Linked DNA regions of Homo sapiens: all the other regions are linked to region 1. Evidence: promoter capture Hi-C in human tissues and cell types (Jung and others, 2019). All regions are on one chromosome and are shown on one strand. The core of a region is centred on a gene start or on the middle of the fragment in contact, and the rest is flanking DNA. Distances in the headings are between cores, read along the strand shown. Region 1 holds the start of ZNF761 (zinc finger protein 761). Region 2 holds the start of ZNF836 (zinc finger protein 836). Region 3 holds the start of SIGLEC6 (sialic acid binding Ig like lectin 6).

The links. The method cuts DNA at HindIII sites, captures the fragments that hold promoters and counts their contacts. A contact is called where the count stands out against the background at its distance.
Region 2: the fragment with the promoter of ZNF836 here is called in contact with a fragment that was not itself captured in region 1 in 1 of the 25 tissues and cell types used here (hippocampus).
Region 3: the fragment with the promoter of SIGLEC6 here is called in contact with a fragment that was not itself captured in region 1 in 1 of the 25 tissues and cell types used here (hippocampus).

What each region holds. Positions count from the first base shown.
Region 1 is chr19:53,429,679-53,433,831 of GRCh38, forward strand. All of the region lies in intron 9 of ZNF765-ZNF761 (ZNF765-ZNF761 readthrough), which reads left to right. It overlaps ZNF761 (zinc finger protein 761), which reads left to right and starts at 2,306. Exons shown (of 5, transcript NM_001289951.2): 1 at 2,306-2,350. It also overlaps the pseudogene TPM3P9. RefSeq lists a silencer at 2,183-2,262. The HindIII fragment of the contact is 5,404 bases long and covers 202-4,153 here.
Region 2 is chr19:52,169,105-52,173,262 of GRCh38, forward strand. ZNF836 (zinc finger protein 836) reads right to left here and starts at 2,517. Exons shown (of 5, transcript NM_001102657.3): 1 at 2,232-2,517; 2 at 544-677. RefSeq lists an enhancer at 1,916-2,055 and a silencer at 2,636-2,685. The HindIII fragment of the contact is 5,540 bases long and covers 1-3,450 here.
Region 3 is chr19:51,530,420-51,534,721 of GRCh38, forward strand. SIGLEC6 (sialic acid binding Ig like lectin 6) reads right to left here and starts at 1,251. Exons shown (of 8, transcript NM_001245.7): 1 at 1,163-1,251; 2 at 741-1,100; 3 at 262-540; 4 at 18-65. The coding sequence starts at 1,229. The HindIII fragment of the contact is 9,007 bases long and covers 1-3,949 here.

The sequences.
Region 1 (4,153 bases), core at 1,654-4,153:
TGAAGGTTGATGGCAGACTGTTCCAAATGAGAATAATGGTTTCCGTGATATGATAAAAGCAATGCTATTGAATATGATGATGACTGATGAGAAGTTTTGCATAGCATTCGCTGTAAAAAAGCCACTTATAGGCTGGGCACGGTGGCTCACGCCTGTAATTCCAGCATTTTCGGAGGCTGAGGTGAGCAGATCACCGGAGGTCAAGAGTTCAAGACCAGCCTGGCTAACATGGTGAAACCCTGTCTCAACTAAAAATGCAAACATTAGCCAGATGTGGTGGTGGATGCCTGTAATCCCAGCTACTTGGGAGGCTGAGGCAGGAGAACTGCTTGAATCTGAGAGGTGTAGGTTGCAGTGAGCTGACATCATGCCTCTGCACTCCAGCCTGGGTGAGAGAGCAAGACTACGTCCAAAAAAAAAAAAAAAGAGAGAGAGAATTTTCCTGTAAATAATTAAAAAGACTAAGCAGCCCCAGAGATAAGACCTCCTGGGATCATTGTCCCTTTATATTGAGTGATAAAGTAACCTTCCTTGAAGTATATCAATCCATAACCAATCACCTTGCTGCACCCTATGTACTGGTCTTGAATGGAAAATGTGGTGATTCTTCTAAAGCTTCTCTGTCTTTCCGTGTGTGTGAAACCTAAGGGAACGCTGATCCCATTCATTTGGAGTTGATGTTTCCAGGTGGCTATCCTCATGCTTTGTGTTCAAATAAACTCTGTGCTTAATCATATATTCTAAATTTTATTATTTACTGCTGATATCAGTTTCTGTCAGACTGTAGGAGCCTCACCAGAGAGGGCACCTGTCGCTATGTTGTAAAACTCACACTTGTCAGAAAGACATGGGTTAGTGTTACTCCCCGTCCCTCAGAATGAAGCTAATTAGCTGACACAGATGGTCACCTCCATTACCAAGTAGAGTCAGGATGAACTATGTGTGACCAAGAGTGTTGTCAAGTCCTCTTCCCTGAGGACTGATTAGCGTTTATCTTGAAAACATGTCCTTAATGGGTTGTATAGAACAGTAAAGTTTCTTTCTCTTTTTTCAACCTCTTAGCTGTTTGCCTGTATTTCGCATCACAATCTGGTCTAAGGCTTATTTATTAATGAAATGGTTTTAATTTCTTTCTCTATGATCATCGTGGAGATGATTTCTCATTTGGAGAAAGACTTTTTGTTTGTTTTCAATTATATTTTCTCAACAATTAGACAGTGAAGTAAAAAGTATTTTGGGGGGGCCAGGCACAGTGGCTCACGCCTGTAATCCCAGTACTTTGGGAGGCCGAGGCAGGTGGATCACTTGAAGTCAGGAGGTTGAGACCAGCTGGCCAACATGGGGAACCCACCTACAAAAATACAAAAATTAGCCGGGCATGGTGGCACGCGCCTGTAATGGCAGGTACTCCGGAGGCTGAGGCAGGGGAATCGCTTGAACCCAGGAGGCAGAGGCTGCAGTGAGCCCAGTTCCTGCCACTGCACTCCAGCCTGGGCGACAGAGAAATGCTCTGTCTCAAAATAAAAGAAAAGAAATAAGTAAATAAATAAAAGAAAGTAATAGATCTCTTCTACAAATGTGCTGGGACAACTAACTGGATATCCACATGGAAAAGAATAATGTATCCCTATCTCACACAATCAAAATTTTATTTTAACGTTAAAAAATGGAGAAAAAAAGAGAGAGAGACGAGGGAGGGAGTCCTGAGGGAGGGGTGTTACTTTGTCGCCCAGGCTGGCCTGGACCCCCAGGCTCAGCGATCCTCTCGCCGCTGCTTCCTGAGTAGCTGGGAACTCAGGCTCCCGCCCCCGCGCCTGAATCCTTGCTGTGTTTATCCAGCAGGTCGCCCCTGGCTGGCCTGAGCATTCCGTCCCGCATCCCAGGGGGAGGCCCTAGGGAAGTCTCTGCAGCTGAGCACGGGGTGGACTCTCCCTCCTGAGTGAGTGGAGAATAGAAAGGGAGAGGATTTCTGTTCTGTTCTGTGGGCCGTCAGCATGAAATCGTACGTTCCGCCCAGGCAGGGCCTTGCATTTTACATTCTAGTTTGTATCCCGTTCCAGACAATTCCAGGGCTTTTGAGTCCATGCGTCAGCCTTCCTGGGCGGTCTCACCTTCACCACCCGAAAACAGGTGCTAGGAGAGAAGCTGAGAGGAGCACCGGTCACGCCCCGGCCCCGCCCTCTGCCGGCTCTAAAGCGCAAGGTCTCTCCGCCTCGCGCCCCGCCCCTGCCTCGTCCAGGCCCCGCCCACCTCCTTGCGGGTCCCGCCCAGGCCTGGCTTCTGCTCTGCGCGCGCAGATTCGTGCAGACCAGGAAGCGGATAGCGTGGAGTGACGGTGCCACCGCGGCGCGTGAGTTTCGCCCTGTCTTGTATTAAGTCTGCTCTTCCAGGTTCCTGGCGCTTCTGTACCTGGGACTTGGGATCCCCACAAACCTGGAAATTCTCAGCCGTCTTCCTTCACTCAGAGCAAATTGAGACGACCTCGTGAGAGGCCGTGGGTCGGTTCCTTTTGGGTTTAAGGTCCCCCTGAGGCTGGTCCCGTCCCGGGTGTTTCTGCTACAGGGCAATGTATACACTTTCTAACCTGTAGTTTTCCTGCTGTAAACCTTTTTCTGACTCCTCCCGCCCCGCGCTTTTTAAAGTCCTCACCTGAGAGGTGGATTCTCGCCTTTGTCGGCCCCTGGAGCCCAGCGCCGCTGCCCCAGTCCCGGAAAGGCCGCGTCCTCTGCCTGGTCCTAGGATCCTGCAGACCCCACCCTTGCCTTAAGGTGCTGTCGCCCCTTCACCTCCCTCCTTGTGCCGGGCCCTGCTGCTCCACGGGTTTCGCCTCCACAATCACCGCTTCCCCTGAGCCCGCGTTGGGGAGGTGCCCGGGGCCTGTCCTGTGACGCGGGGTGTTACTGCCTGCCCAGCTCCAGCCCCTGGAAAATGCGCTCCCCCGGGATGCAGGCGTCTTACTCCAAACCCTCCTGTGACTGTGTGGGCCAAAGGGATCAGGAGACGGACAGAGAGCAGTGGAAAACCTGAGACAGAAAAGAAGAATGAGAAAGACCTATAACAGATGGCAAAGTAGAGGATGGGTGAGGGATTTGCCAAGAGACAGCAAAAGTGAAAAGAAAACGATAAGAAAGCAGGAGGAGAAAAGCAAGTGCAGAAATGTAGAGAAAAGCTGGATGTACAGAGAGATGAAGGACAGCAAGGTAGGGAGAGGGACAGCAAAGAGGGAGGCTCATCAGGGTGAGGGAGAGGAGGAGGGATTTGGAGCCAGGGCAGACAGAGCAGAGTGGTGCTGGTGGCAAGGAGAACAGAGGGAGAAGCACAGCAGGGAGGACACCTGGGGATCTGGGGTGCTAGAGAGTGGGGACAGGGGGGTATAACAGGGAAGAGAGAATTTAACGGGGAGAGCAAAGGAGGCGCAGAGATGGTGTTGCGGGAAACTGAGGACTAGACAGACTGATATGGGGGAGACAAAAGGATGTTTATTTAAGATACGCACCGGCTCAGTGGATTTACATCTAAAAAGCTGAGCATTTCAACAAAGACGGAGTGGGGTTTTTTGCTTTCAGAAGCAGAATAAAAGCAGTTAATCATATAATGATAGGTCATGTAATCTATAGCATAGCATAACTTGTGTCCTTCCATAGCTGGTGGCCTCGTAGCTGAGTTGAAAGAAAAACAAGAACAGCTAAATACACACATTTGTCCTTTTTTTTTTTTTCTTCACTCTTGTTCTGGGAAGGTGGGGGGCTGTCTGGAGCCCATTTCTTTGGCTTCGACTTCGCCAAGTCGAGCTTGCTAGGCAGAGGAAAACTTGTTCTTCTTTTCTTTTTAACCCTTGCCTTGCCTGTTACTTTTCTTGGAGTGAATGAATGCATGTTTGTTTTTTAACTTTCTGCCTCAGTTTTCTCCCTTAGATGCCTTTTATGAACAAGATTTTACTAGAAGACATCACTATTACTGGATTCTTCATGAAAGAGCACTGGCTGATATTTATATCGGGCTATTAGCTGAGTGGTAGTCTGCCTGGTCGCAATTGCTTCTATAGTTGATTGAATGCTCTTAACACGGAGAGGTAAGAGGTAAGGGAGTATCAAACCAATTCTTAGTATGGCTAGAACTACTCCTATTAAGGTTTTGAATCTACTGAAGGAGG
Region 2 (4,158 bases), core at 1,267-3,766, 1.3 Mb before region 1:
TAGGGTGAAAGTTTAAAAAAATGACAATACTTAACATTTAGAAATGAATGACGTCAGCTGATTATAGGATGCCACCAAATCTTATTTCAGAAGTCAGTAATTATTTATAGAAAGGCAGATATTGAATAAACTAACACTTATCTCAAGCTTCCAAAATAACGATGAATTAAGTGGAACTACAAAGAAAAAAGTAGGCCAGGCGCAGTAGCTCACACCTGTAATCCCAGTACTTTAGGAGGCCGAGGCCGGCAGATCACCTGAGGTTGGGAGTTCAAGACCAGCCTGACCAACATGGAGAAACTCTGTCTCTACTAAAAATACAAAATCAGCCAGGCGTGGTGGCACATGCCTGTAATCCCAGGTACTCGTGAGGCTGAGGCAAGAGAATCACTTGAACCTGGGAGGCGGAGATTGCAGTGAGCCGAGATGGCACCATTGCACTCCAGCCTGGGCAACATGAGCGAAACTCCGTCCCAAAAAAAGAAAAAAGCAAATCCATTACCAAAAAAAAATAAGACTCTGAATACTCATACAAAGATATACCTCGTAGGCCTGGCGTGGTGGCTCCCGTCTGTAATCCCAGCACTCTGAGGCAGAAAGACTGCTTGAGCCCAGGAGGTTGAGGCTGCAGTGAGCGGAGATCATGGCACTGTACTCTAGTCTGACAGAGCAAGACCCTGTCTCAAAAAAGAAAAAAAAAAAAAAAAGACATACCTTGTAGTGACAGTGACAGTCATTTATCGCCCCATTTCTCAGTTACTCTATCCTCTACCCCATCCCAGGGAAGAAAAGAGTTACCACGAATGACTTAATTTAAATGCTCTCTGGCTAAACAGAAATTCCAAATATCTTTTGATACAAATAAATACAAAATGCACAAGCCTTACAGAAAAGAGTGGTAATTTTCATCCTCACGAGTACAATTTAAAGAAATGAATTTTAAATTAGAGTATAAAGTCACAAATTAGAATATTACAACCACCATCCATATCCAATCAACTCATCGCTCATCTGGATGGGGTCCTCTCCCACTTTCTTCACTATTGTGTGTGTCCCTCTCTCATTCTGCACCTTTCCTCCCCTTTTCTGTTTTTCTCCTCTTTATGTCTGTTCTGCCCGATGCTCTGCAACTTACTTCACCTCTCGTAGCTCTTTCTCCCCAATCTTTCTGATTGTCCCCAATCTCCACGTATTTCCGCCTCTTTTTCCCCATCTGAGCTCCCTCTCTGCTCTCCTTGTTAAAATTCCCTCTTACCTGTTACACCTCCTTTGTTCCCACTCTCTAGCACCCCCAACTCCCTAGGCTTCCTCCCTGCTGTGGTTCTCCCTCTACTCTGCTTGTCACCCACTGCCCTCTCTCCCTCTCTTTCAGTCCCAGCACCACGTAGCTCTGTCGGCTGCGGCTCCAACTCTTTCACCTTCTCCCCACTGTCTGTCTGCAGTGCCTCCTCCTTTGCCGCCCCACTCTATTTTGCTGCCTTTCATCTCTCTGAAGGTCCCCCTTTTTTTCTAAATTTCTCTGTGTGCTTTCCTCCCCCTGCTTCTTTCTCCATTCGTTCTCTTTCACTCTTGCTGTCTCTTTGCAAATCCCTAAATTATCATCCATTTTGCCGTGTATTTATGGGTCTCCCTCATTCTCTTCTATTCGGTCTTTCCTTTTGCTCCGTCGCTCCCCTTCTTTTCCTCTCCTGATCCCTCTCACCCACACATTCAGTAAGAAAGGGGAGGAATAGGATGCCCACCTCCCGGAAAAGCATATTTTCCAGTGGAGTAAAATTTGGGAAGGAAGAACACTGGGTGTCACAAGACTCAGGTGACCTCCCCCAAGGGGGGGATCGAGAAAAGCAGTGGCTGTGAAGGGGAAGCCTGGGGAGCGAAAGGACCCGGCGTGAGGAGGACACAAGGTGGCAGGGGGTACGGTGTCTCAGGACAGGGAGGGTCTGCAGAATCCCAGGACCTGGGAGGAGAAGCGACTCCTTCAGGAGCCGGACGGCGGGCGCTCCCCTCCAGGGGCTGACGACGGAGAAGCTCCGGGGTCGCAACGGGCGGGAATCCACCTCCCGAGTGAGGACTCGACTTGGCGCAGGGCCGAAGCAGAGGTCAGTAAGGGTTTTAAGCAGGAACACGACCTGAGTGGGGTTGTCTACATGGTCCTAAGGCAGAAAGGCAGGGAGCAAGGAACAGCCTCAGAGAGATTTTTAAACCGAAAGGGAAGCAATTATCAGACTTACTTGGGGCGAAGGGGCTGTTGCTGGTATTTTAAGGTCCGTAGCGATCCCCAGGAAACGGGTATGGACAAGGGAAGACTGCCAAGTGCACGTTCGATTCAGGCAGACGGGGCGAAGCAAATGTTTAGTCCAGGTAGACGGAAACTGACGCGCAGCGCTGTGATCTTTTCCCCGCGCGATCTGCTTCCGGGTGTGCAGGAAGCTACACGCCCTGAGAAAAAAGACTGAGAGACCTGGGGCGGGAGAGGGGCCTGGGCGGGGTGCGACCCGCAAGGGAAAGGGCAGAAAGACTGGCCAGATTTGGGAACCCTGAAAGGGTGGGGCAAGGCTGATGCGGTAGTGGGCGGGGCCAGGTGGGCTAAGCGGGACGGGCGGTGTGGGCGGGACCTGTTTGGTGGGCGGGGCCTGTTATTCGCTCTGCCTTCCACCCAGCAAGTCTTTGTTCTCCCGATTTAGGAGTATTTGTGACTATTTCTTGTCCTGTGAAGCAGCGTTGCTTCCTGCCTATTTTAAGTTAATGTTTTAGACTTTAAGGTCAAAGCTTAAAGTTGTGGTCCACTTCTGTTGGAAACTAAGATGTTTTCTTCTTGTCAAGTTGAACTGATTTAAGTCAAAATCGATTTTTGCGAGCCTGGTGGACTCCATCGGGTCTTGCCAGTGAGGCTGAAGCCAGTTAAGGCTGAAGTTACTCAGTAGTCAGGGAACTAGGATCTCCGTGAAGATCTGATGTGCAGCCGTGGCTGGATCCAGGAACCCTGAAGACATTATGCTAAGCGAAATGTGCTAGACACAGAAAGACAAATCCTGCATGTGCTTACTTACATGTGCAATCTACAAACATCAAAATTACAGTAACAGAGTAGAAGGGTGGTTTCCAGGGCTGACGGTCTATCCTGTGCCTGTCCCACCATTGTATTTTGGAAGCAAATAGCTTCTTTGGCTTCACAGTTTCACAGCTGGACAGAAATTTTGCCTCAGGATGAACCACACTTTGAGTCTCACCCATATGTGATTCAGATAATATTTGGGTAATATTTGGGCCTTAGAGTTTGATACTGAAATGGATTAAGACTTTTGAAATGGGCCAGGAGCAGTGGCTCTGGCCTGTAATCCCAGCTCTTTGGGAGGCCAAGGTGGAAGGATTGCTTGAGCTCAAGAATTCAAGACCAACCTGGGGCAACATAGTAAGACCCTTGTCTCTACAAAAAATACAAAAATTAGCCAGGCATGGTGGCTCACGCCTATAGTCACAGCTATTTGGGAGGCTGAGGTGGGAGGATCTCTTGAGCCCAGGGGATCAAGGCTGCAATGAGTTGTCTTTGCACCACTGAACTGCTGCCAGGGCAACAGAGTGAGACTCTGTCTCAAAAAATAATAATAATAAGACTTTTGAGATGTTAGGATGGGGGTGAAGGGATCTTGCATGTGAGAAGGACATGAATTTTGGGAGTCCAGAGTACAGAATGTTATGAGCTGAATCACGTCCCTAAAAAATCATTGTTGGCCAAGCGCGGTGGCTCATGCCTATAATCCCAGCACTTTGGGAGGCCGCGGCGGGCGGATCACAAGGTCATGAGATCGAGACCATCCTGGTTAACACGGTGAAACCCTGTCTCTACTAAAAATGCAAAAAATTAGCCGGGCGTGGTGGCGGGTGCGTGTGGTCCCAGCTGCTCCGGAGGCAGAGGCAGGAGAATGGCGTGAACCCAGGAGGCGGAGCTTGCAGTGAGCCGAGATCCAGCCACTGCACTCCAGCCTGGGCGGCAAAGCGAGACTCTGTCTCAAAAAATAAATAAATAAATAAAATAAAATAAATCATTGTCTTTAAGTTCTAACACCCAGTACCTCAGAATATGACTGTATTTTGAAATAGGGCATTTAGAGGCTATTAAGTTAAACTAAGCTTGTTAGAATGGGCTCTGATGCAATC
Region 3 (4,302 bases), core at 1-2,500, 1.9 Mb before region 1:
GACTGGCTGGTTCCTACCTGCGCTGTTTCCTTGGAAGATGCTGATGGCCACTTTCTGTGGAGCATCTGGGGTGGAAAGAGGTGGCCGCCTCAACATCCCTGAGGAGGGATGGTAGGCATGGGGCCTTCCCCTCAGGAGCCATGAAAACAGGGAAAGGGGCTCTCCTCTTTGGCAACCAGGTCCCCAACTTTAAGCTCTGGCTCAGCCCTGCCCTGTCCCCCCACACCCTCAGGGACCCGGGCGTCCTGGCCCAGCACTCACAGGAGACATTGAGCTGGATGGTTCTCTCCATGGTCACACCGGCTCCAGGGAACGTCACCTGACAGGTGAGGTTGGTGCTGTGGTCCTGGGGCCGTGGGGTGATTGTGAGCACCGAGGACTGGGTGGTCCTGGGGCCCAGGGAGGTGGGGGCAGCTGACATCCAGGAGAAGATGGGGGGCGTCCCCTGCTCACAGACCCAGGGCACAGAGCAGGTCAGATTGCTGGGATGGCCAGACTCCAGGGTCCCTGGGATGGAGATGTTGGGCCTGTGGGTCAGGGCTGGTGAGGAGATGGGGACGCAGGATCAGGATGGAGGTCTGAGGTTTCACCCAGGGGGAAGCCCAGTCTCTGGTCCAGCTCCTTCTCTGAGCCCAACATGCTTAATTGTACCCGCCTCCCAAGACGGGGCTCCCGTCCCAGCCCTGCCCTACGGCCCCCATGACCTTCCCCTGTGGCTAGTCCTGGAGCTGGTTCCTTACCCATCACACGCACAGAGAGCTTGGAAGATGTATAACCGTATTTCATCCATTTGGACTTCAACCGAAAGAAGTATGCAGCATTGTCCCTCCTCCGGGCATCTCTGATGCTCAGGGAGCAGTTCTTCCTTCTGGGATCCCAGAGGAGGTGGAATCGGCCCCGGGTCTCCTCCTGCACTTCTTCGTCTGGGTCGTTTGTGGCCACTGGAACATCAGCCCCTTCCAGGAACCAGTAGCCATAACCATAGTACGAGGCTGGAAGGGTAGTGGGCAATCTGCAGGGTACGAGGACGCACAGACCCTCCTGCACCGTCAGTGACTCTGGCCCCTCCAGCTGGAATCTCCGCTCCTGAGCCAGGGCCCCTATGGAGACATGAGGGTCAGCTCGGCCCAGCCCCACGGCACCTCTCCCCTGGCCCACTCACCTGCCCACAGCAGGGGCAGCAGCAGCGGTAGCATCTCTGAGGCGGAGGCTTCCTGGGCTCCCTGCATGAGCAGAGAAGGGGAAGGGAGTGGAGGGGAAGGACTGCGGGGAGGAACGGGTGGCTGGGGAGGAGCGCGTGATCTCGGCTGTTCACAGAAGAGGAACTGCGAAGCCACAAGCCCTCGGAGCTCCACTCCCTCTGCACAGAGCAGACGGAAACTTTGAGACCCAGAGACCTGCCCAAAGAAGAGCAGAGGAGAAGAGACTGTGTCCCGCCTCCCACCTCGGGGCTTCCTGTGAGCAACAGAGCCCGGACCAGGGCCTCCCGGGGCATCTGAGGAATGCGAAACCTGTGTCCAAGGCCCTGCCCACCTGAGGTGCTTTTCTGTGCACCACTGTTTACACCTGGGAGCTGGTCACTCCTGGCCCCAGAGAGTCACAGCCTCATCCCACGCCATGAGAAAGTCAGTCCTGCAGGATATAGGATTCTGTAGGGTCTGTGGGAGTGTCTGGGACAGTGAAAGGAAGAAGGGTCCCAGGTGCAGTGTGGGTGATAGCCACTCATTCATTCACTCATTCATTCATTCATTCATTCATTCACCAAAGACATAGTGAGCATCTGTATGTAGGTCGGGCTGGAGAAGAGATGCCAGGGACCTGGTCCCTACCCTTGAGATGATCCCCATCCATAGCTTCCCATCCTCAGCACACACCCTCACTATCTAGCTTTAGAGCTGTGGACACTGGTGAGTTTGCCAAGTGACACAGTAGAATGCCAGATATTTTTTAAAACATGAGTATGGAGGTTTTTCCTTGACAGCTAGTACGCTGATTTACAAAATTTCAATGACATCTCCAAAATAAGAACCATGCAACATCTTCATGTAAATCAAAAAGGACACATATTTTATGAACTGCAGTGCAGAAGAAACTTCTTTTGAATTAATGTTGCCACTCAGTGCAGTGTGGACTGGAGAGATTTTTTTTTAGGTCCTCATCATAGAGATTAGCAATTTCTTTCCTGTGAAAAATCTGCTTCTCACAGTTAAATGTGGCACAAAAGACATATTTCTGGACAACGTGAGCAGAATATCCTGACAAAATTAAAATTTTTAGGTCTAGCTCACATGGTTTTCTATTTTCCTCTGTGCAGTATGCATCTGGCAAATCTCTAATACCTATGAGGTATTAGAATTTGCCACCATATATTTGTAAATTTTTTTATTTCTACAAACTTAAGGAGTAGATGTAAAATTTTTTTGCATGTATATAATGCGTAATGATTATGTCAGGATATTTAGAGTGTCCGTCACGTGAGTGCAATACATTCTTGTTAACTAAAATCACACTATTCTGCTCTCTAACGCTGAATTTATTCCTTTTAACTGTATGTTTGTAGCACTTCACTCACTTCTCTTCATCTTCTGTCCTCCCCCATCTGACCCTTTCCAGTCTCTGTTGTCTATCTTTCTACTGTCCACCTCCATGTGATAATATTTTTTTAGCTCCCACATGTAAGTGAGAACATGCAACATTTGTCTTTTTGTGTCTGACTTATTTCAATTTAGATAATGAATTCTAGTCCCATCCATGTTGCTGCAAATGACACGATTTCATTCTTTTTTATGGCCAAATAGCATGTATACTATATTTTCTTTATCCATTCATCTGTTAATTGACACTTAGGTTGGTTCCATATCTCTGATATTGTGAATAGTGCAGCAAAAATCATGTGAATGCAGGTATCTCTTTGATGTATTTCTTTCTTTCCCTTCGGGTAGATACCCAGTAGTGGGATTGCTTGAGTGATCGAATAGTAATTCTATTTTTAGTTCCTGAGAAATGTCCATAGTGTTTTCAAAAGTGGCTGTACTAGTTTAAATTCCCACCAACAGTACAGAAGAGTTATCTTTCTCCTCATCCTTGCCAAAATCTGTTATTTTTTGTTTTTTTAGTAATAGTCATTCTGACTGGGTAAGACGGTATCTCATTTTGGTTTAGATGTGCACTTCTCTGATGATTAGTGACGCTGACCATTTTGTCGTATTGGCTGTTCTTATGTATTCTTTGAGAACTGTCTATTCCTGTCCTTTGCCCACTTTTTACTTGGATTATTTGCTTTTTCCTGTTGAGTTGTTTGAGTTCCTTGTATAGTCTGGATATTAGTCTCCTGTCAGAAGAATAGTTTGCGAATATTTTCTCCAATTCAACAGGTTGTTTCTTCACTCTAATTATTTCTTTTCCTGGCAGAAGCTTTTTGTTTATTAAGTCCCATTTGTTTATTTTTGTTTTTGTTGCCTGTGCTTTTCAGAACTTAGTCATAATTTCTGACTCTTCTGACCAATGTTCAAAAGAGTTTTCCCTAGGTTTTCTTGTAGCTGTTTTTTTTTTTTATAGTTTTGGGTCTTACATTTAAGTGTATGATTCATTTTGAGTTTTTTTTTAATATGGTGAGAGAGAAGAATCCAGTTTCATTCTTTTGTGTGTGGGTATACAATTTTCCCAGCACCATTTATTGAAGAAGGTGTCCTTTCCTCAATATAAGTTCTTGTCAGTTTTGTTGACAATCAATTGGCTGTATACATGTGGCCTTATTTCTGGGTTATATTCCATTGGTCTATGTATCTATTTCTATACCAATATCATGCTGTTTTGGTTATTATAGCCTTGTAATATACTTTGAAGTCAGGTAAAGTGATACCACCAGCTTTGTTCTTTTTTCTCCGGATAGCTTTGGCTATTCAGGTTCTTTTTGGATCCATATGAATTTTATAATTGTTTTTTACAATTCTGTGAAGACTGACATTGGTATTTTCATATGGATTACATTAAATCTTTAGATTGCTATAGACCAGTGTGGGCTTCTTAACTATCTTAATTCTTCCAGTCATGAGTATGGGATGTTTTTCCATTTGTTTGTGTCATCTTCAATTTCTTTCATCAGTGTTTTTTAGTTTTTCCTGTATAGATTTTCACCTGGTAGGTCATTAAGAGCATATTGTTTAATTTCCATACATTTGTCTTGTTTCCAGAGTTCCTCTTGGTGCTGACTTGTTGTTTTGTTCCATTGTGGTCTGAGTATACATTGAGTAAATATTGATTTTTTTTTTAATTTATAGAGACTTATTTCGTAGCCGAATA